Regions from separate parts of the Homo sapiens genome. Here region 2 is linked to region 1. Evidence: promoter capture Hi-C in human tissues and cell types (Jung and others, 2019). All regions are on one chromosome and are shown on one strand. The core of a region is centred on a gene start or on the middle of the fragment in contact, and the rest is flanking DNA. Distances in the headings are between cores, read along the strand shown. Region 1 holds the start of OVOL3 (ovo like zinc finger 3). Region 2 holds the start of SYNE4 (spectrin repeat containing nuclear envelope family member 4).

Region 1 (2,700 bases), core at 81-2,580:
GGAGGCTGAGCCGGGCGGATCACCTGCATTTAGGAGTTTGAGACCAGCCTGGCCAACATGGTGAAACCCCATCTCTACAAAAAACACAAAAAATCAGCTGGGTGCAGTGGTGTGCCCCTGTAATCCCAGCTACTTGGAAGGCTGAGGCAGGAGACTCACTTGAACCCAGGAGGCGGAGGTCATAGAGGAGCCAAGATCACGCCATTGCACTCCAGCCTGGGCAACGAGCAAAACTCCGCCTCAAAAAAAAAAAATTAAAAAACAGAGCTTGGATTGCTTCTTAGTCTTCTGGCTAAGAATCAAGTGTAAAACAGCTTGGCCAGTGTGCCGGGGTAGGGTCCTGGGAGCCCCTGGCTGTGTCAAGAGACCCCCTTTGGGCCAGGTGCGGTGGCTCATGCCTGTAATCCCAGCACTTTGGGAGGCCAAGGCAGGCGGATCACTTGACGTCAGGAGTTCAAGACTAGCCTGGCCAACATGGTGAAACTCTGTCTCTACCAAAAATACAAAAATTAGCCCGGTGTGGTGGTGCATGCCTGTAGTCCCAGCTACTCAGGAGGCTGAGGCAGGAGAATCGTTTGAACCCGGGAGGTGGAGGTTCCAGTGAGCCAAGATGGTGCCACTGCACTCCAGCCTGGGCAACAAGAGTGAAACTCCGTCTCAAAAAAAGAAAAAAAAATAGGAGACCCCCTTTTACTTTCCAGACTGTGGGAGGGAGGAAGAGTGTTGTCCCAGGCAGTAACTAGGGGCTAGATTATTAACAAACTAGTATTTTAGTGCCTGCTACACCTGAACAGTGCTTCTGGCTGAATGTTAGCCCTGGGAATCTGAAGATCAGAGAGGTGGGGCATCCTACCTGAGGATGCACAGCCTGGATCCTCATTTTGCCCTGATTTATCCAGATCTGCTGTCCTCCCTGCACCCTACAGAGCAGGGCAATCACAGCAGGGGGCCCCTTCAGTGTCCTCAGACAGCTGCTGTGATTTGAATAACCAGGCAGGCTGCTGGATGTCCCCTGGTGACTGATTTGCCTGGCAAACAGACCCTCAACCCCTGGGAGACAGTCCCCCTGGGGCCTTGTTTCTTCTTCCTATCCTCAAAAGCTCCCCAGGCCCATCTCCCCTTGCCTGGCTCTGCTTGGTGGTCCTAGTGCTTGTCCACCCCTGGAGGCTGGATGGTTCCCTCCAAAACCTGGGAGAAGATGGGCAGGTCCCCAGGCAGGGGTAACCTGAGCCAGCTTAGTCCACTCCCAGGGCCAGCCAGGAAATTTGCATGAAGAGAATGAGGTTCCTCAGAGGCTTCCCCTCCTTTCCCACCAGGGATAGTCATCCTGGGGCTGAGGTCTGACAGCAGGTGGAAGCAGCCCCTGTGTGTGGAGAGCCTTCCGGAGGGCATGCCCCGCGCCTTCCTGGTCAGGAGTCGGCGTCCACAGCCCCCCAACTGGGGCCATCTGCCTGACCAGCTCCGGGGAGATGCCTATATCCCAGGTGGGCCCCTCACTGTGCCTGGAGGTAAGGGGCAGGAGAGACGCAGTGTCACCATCTGGCTTTTCTCCTCAGACTGCAGCAGCCTGGGGGGGCCACCGGCACAACAGTCGTCCAGTGTCAGGGATCCGTGGACAGCGGTGAGTGTGTAACTGGCTAGCAAAGCCAGCTGTTTCGCTCCTGCCTGCTCTCAGCCTTAATGAAGCTGACAGCCCCTTGCTCCCCCGACCCATCTGCACACGCCCTCCAGCCTCGGGACCTGTCCGCCCCTACTTCTCTGTGTTGGGAATGCCTCTCCTTTCCTAGTAGTGAGCTCTCTACTGTTAGGTCTCACCCCAGGCACCAGGGCCGGCAGCCACAGGGATCTCTTCCAGCGGGGCACAAGATTCATCCCCACATGTGGATGATCCGCTTTATGTCAGAACATGGGACAAGGCAACAGGAGTGCGATGGGAGATAAGGGCTTTTTCAGCTGTGCATGCATTGGAGGAAGGAAAGCGCCAGCCGGAATGTAATATATTCATGAAAGCAAGGCACTGTTCTAGGCATGGGCTGTTATATTCAGCGGGAATAAGACAAAAATCCACAATTTTATGGAGCTTATATTCTGGTTGGGGCTGCATGTATAGACAATAAAATTAGTCAGCCTGTAATTCCAGCACTTTGGGAGGCCGAGGCGGGTGAATCACTTGAGGTCATGAGTTCGAGACCAGGCTGGCCAACATGTTGAAACCTTGTCTCTACTAAAATTACAAACATTAGCCAGACATGGTGGCACGTGCCTGTAATCCCAGCTCCTCAGGAGGCTGAGGCAGGAGAATCAGTTGAACCTAGGAGGCAGGGCAGAGGATGCAGTGAGCCGAGTCTGCGCCACTGCACTCCAGCCTGGGAAACAGATCTAGACTCCATCCCCCCTCAAAAAAAACAATAAAATTAGAAAAATAGACCGGGCATAGTGGCTCATGCCTGTAATCCCAGCACTTTGTGAGGCCAAGGTGGGTGGATTGCTTGAGGTCAGGAATTCAAGACCAGCCTGGCCAACATGGTGAAACCCCATCTCTACAAAAAATAAAAAAATTAACTGGGCATGTGGCGCATGCCTACAATCGTGTAATCGTGGGGAGGCTGAGGCACTAGAATCGCTTGAACCCGGGAGGCGGAGGTTGCAGTGACCTGACATCATACCACTTCACTCCTGCCTGGGCGACAGAGCAAGACT
Region 2 (2,700 bases), core at 37-2,536, 100 kb before region 1:
AGGGAGCGGGGCTGGGTACCCCCCAAGAAGAATGGGGCTACACCAGGAGCAATGATGAAATGCTTCTCAGCCGGGCGCAGTGGTTCACATCTGTAATCCCAGCACTTTGGGAGGCCGAGGCCCGAGGATCACTTGAGCCCAGGAGTTCAAGACCAGCCTGGGCAACATGGTGAGACATCATCTCTACTTTTTTTTTTTTAATAAAAAAGAAATATGGCTGGACACGGTGACGCACGCCTGTAATCCCAGCACTTCGGGAGGCTGAGGTGGGTGGATCACCTGAGGTCGGGAGTTCGAGACTAGCCTGGCCAACAAGTCGAAAACCCATCTCTACTAAAAATACAAAAAATTAGCCAGGTATGGTGGCATGTGCCTGTAATCCCAGCTACTCGGGTGGCTGAGGCAGGAGAATCACTGGGACCTGGGAGGCGGAGGTTGCAGTGAGCAGAGATCTCACCACTGCATTCCAGCCTAGGTGACAGAGAGACTCCATCTCAAAAAAAAAAAGAAAGAAAGAAATACGTCTCCCCAGTTGGTCAGATATTGAAACACTTTTCCAGAAGGTCCCTCCCCCTACAGACACCCAACACCTTTCCAGAATCATCACCCGGTCCTCAGTATGGAGGCCAGACTCCAGGGGACAGAGAGGAGGTGGGGCTGGCACAAGGGGTCTGGGTCACCTCAGCTCACCTCACAGTGTTTGCCCCCAGCTGGGTCCTCGTAGGAAGAGGGTGTTGACCATCTCGGGGGGTGAGCGGCAGGCTCATTGCCCCTTGGCCCACCCTGGAAGTGCTCAGGAGGGCCCAAGGAGTCCTGTCCCAGGGTCTGGGCCTGCTCTGGGCTAGGAGGCAGGGGGCGGTGACTGGGTGAGTCTCGACACCTCACTTTTCAGCCTACCGTCACCCCAACCCTGGTGGCCTCTCCTATGTCCCCAGGCGATCACAGCCATGGCACCTCCTACCCTCACATGGCCCCTGCCACCACGCCTACCCTTTTGGGAACAAGCTTCCAAAGCCCCGGCCCCCACCTCGTGCTCTCCTCTCCGGACGCGGGGCAGACGGTGCATCCAACAATGTCCGCCTCTCTAGGTGCTCCCGGTGGGTGGTTGAGGGGCTCTGAGCCAAGTCTAGGGCCCAGAGGCAGGGACAGGGCCATGGCTGGGGGCCTGGGGACACAAAGTCAGGTGAGGGCAGCCAGTAAGACCTCTTCCCTAGACAAGGGTGTCCCAGAGCTCCTCCGCTGGAGTCACCCGGGCCTGAGGCTGCAGGAGAGGCCCAGGACAGGTCTGGCTCCGCCCCTTCCAAGAGGAACCTGGACCCGGCCATTTGATGCCCAGCTCAGGTGACAGAAGAGTCACTTAACTCCTTCCTCCCTAGCAGGCCAGTAGCTAAATCTCCCAGCATCACTCCACGCCATCCAAGAGGGTTCCAGATAGAACCCCTGCGCCACCTCCTCAAGAGCCCTGGATTCTGCCCCACTGGGAACCCAGAAATCGGACCTCCAGGGCCTACCCCATTCATTTAAGACCCTAGATGCCGCTCCCCTCAGGAAACCAAGCATCTGGCCCCTAAAAAATAAAAATATAAAACCAAGGAAAGATTTTTTTGTTTATTTGGTATGGGGTCTTCTGTAGCTCACACAAAATTATTGGGAAAATAAATAACCCAGGGGAGCCCCCTTTGCCCACGGTTCCTAGGTCGCGGAGTCACAGCAGCCCCAAAGGGGCAGGAACCTGGGAATCCGAGGGGTCCCGGCCCTGGCGGTCACTTGCCCAGCAGGAGGCCGGCGCGCAGCACGCGGGGCACGCGGCGGATGGTCAGCGAGACCCGGGTGCCGCGCACCAGGCAGGCTCCCGGCCGCGCCGACGGGCAGGCTGCCGCATTGGGCGGCGAGGAGGCGGCGTCCAGCGCGTCTACGCGGGCGGCGGCGATGCCGTGGAGAAGACGCGTGTAGGCGGGGCCGCGGAGCACCAGCAGGCTGCGCGGTTCCAGCAGTAGCGAGGTGGTGGGCCGGGGCGGAGGCCGAGGCTGCAGGGCGGGTTGAGGGTCAGCAGGGCTCAAGAAGTCGGGGGGTGGGGGTGGGCGAGAGGTCGGTAGCCTCCGGGGATCAGCTAGTCCCCAGGGGCAAAAGCTGAAGAGCAAGTGTGCTCACAATGATGGAGGCTTTGGTGGTTCAGGAGTGAAAATTGCTGGGGCCTGGGCTGGGGCTGCTGGAAAGGGAGGGCGAGGGCTCTGCCGTCCCTCGGGAGGGGGCAGGATCTAGGTGGCAGATGGGGGCGTCAAAGGGTCAGCGGCCGGTGGGAGCTGCAGCTGGGATCTCAAAGGGGCTGAGGCTGGGGCTGGGACCCAGGAATAGGCAGTCCCCAGGAAATACAGGCAGAGCTGGGCTGAGAGAGCATGGCTGAAGCCAGGACCAGGTGAGGAGAGAGTGAGGCAGAGGTTAGAGGCAGTGGGGGTTCCCAAGGACATCAGGACATTAGAGGACAACCGCACAGCTGAGGGAGTGTCAGAGCATCCAGGAGCATGCAGGGCTCGAGGGCAAGCCTCAAGGAGTGGGTCGGCGTGTTCAGGGGCGTTTCTGTGAACACTGGGGTGCTAGAAATGCATCACTCAGAGAAATTGTGTCAAGGGGTCAAGGAGAATCTGGGGGTGTCCTGCACCCCAAATCACATTCCTGGAGTAGCAGGACGTCTGGGGCACC

The links. Contacts are between HindIII fragments. The study calls those that stand out against the background at their distance.
Region 2: a contact is called between the fragment with the promoter of SYNE4 here and the fragment with the promoter of OVOL3 in region 1, in 3 of the 25 tissues and cell types used here (dorsolateral prefrontal cortex, small bowel and spleen).

The regions. Positions count from the first base shown.
Region 1 is chr19:36,109,813-36,112,512 of GRCh38, forward strand. It overlaps OVOL3 (ovo like zinc finger 3), which reads left to right and starts at 1,331. Exons shown (of 4, transcript NM_001302757.2): 1 at 1,331-1,484; 2 at 1,557-1,621. The coding sequence starts at 1,391. It also overlaps a transcript of WDR62 not described here. RefSeq lists enhancers at 930-1,560, 1,561-2,190. The HindIII fragment of the contact is 22,945 bases long and covers 1-2,700 here.
Region 2 is chr19:36,007,527-36,010,226 of GRCh38, forward strand. It overlaps SYNE4 (spectrin repeat containing nuclear envelope family member 4), which reads right to left and starts at 1,287. Exons shown (of 8, transcript NM_001039876.3): 1 at 1,028-1,287; 2 at 691-841. The coding sequence starts at 1,155. ALKBH6 (alkB homolog 6) reads right to left here. Exons shown (of 7, transcript NM_032878.5): 7 at 1,594-2,027. The coding sequence ends at 1,764. RefSeq lists enhancers at 459-1,000, 1,001-1,540. The HindIII fragment of the contact is 19,934 bases long and covers 416-2,700 here.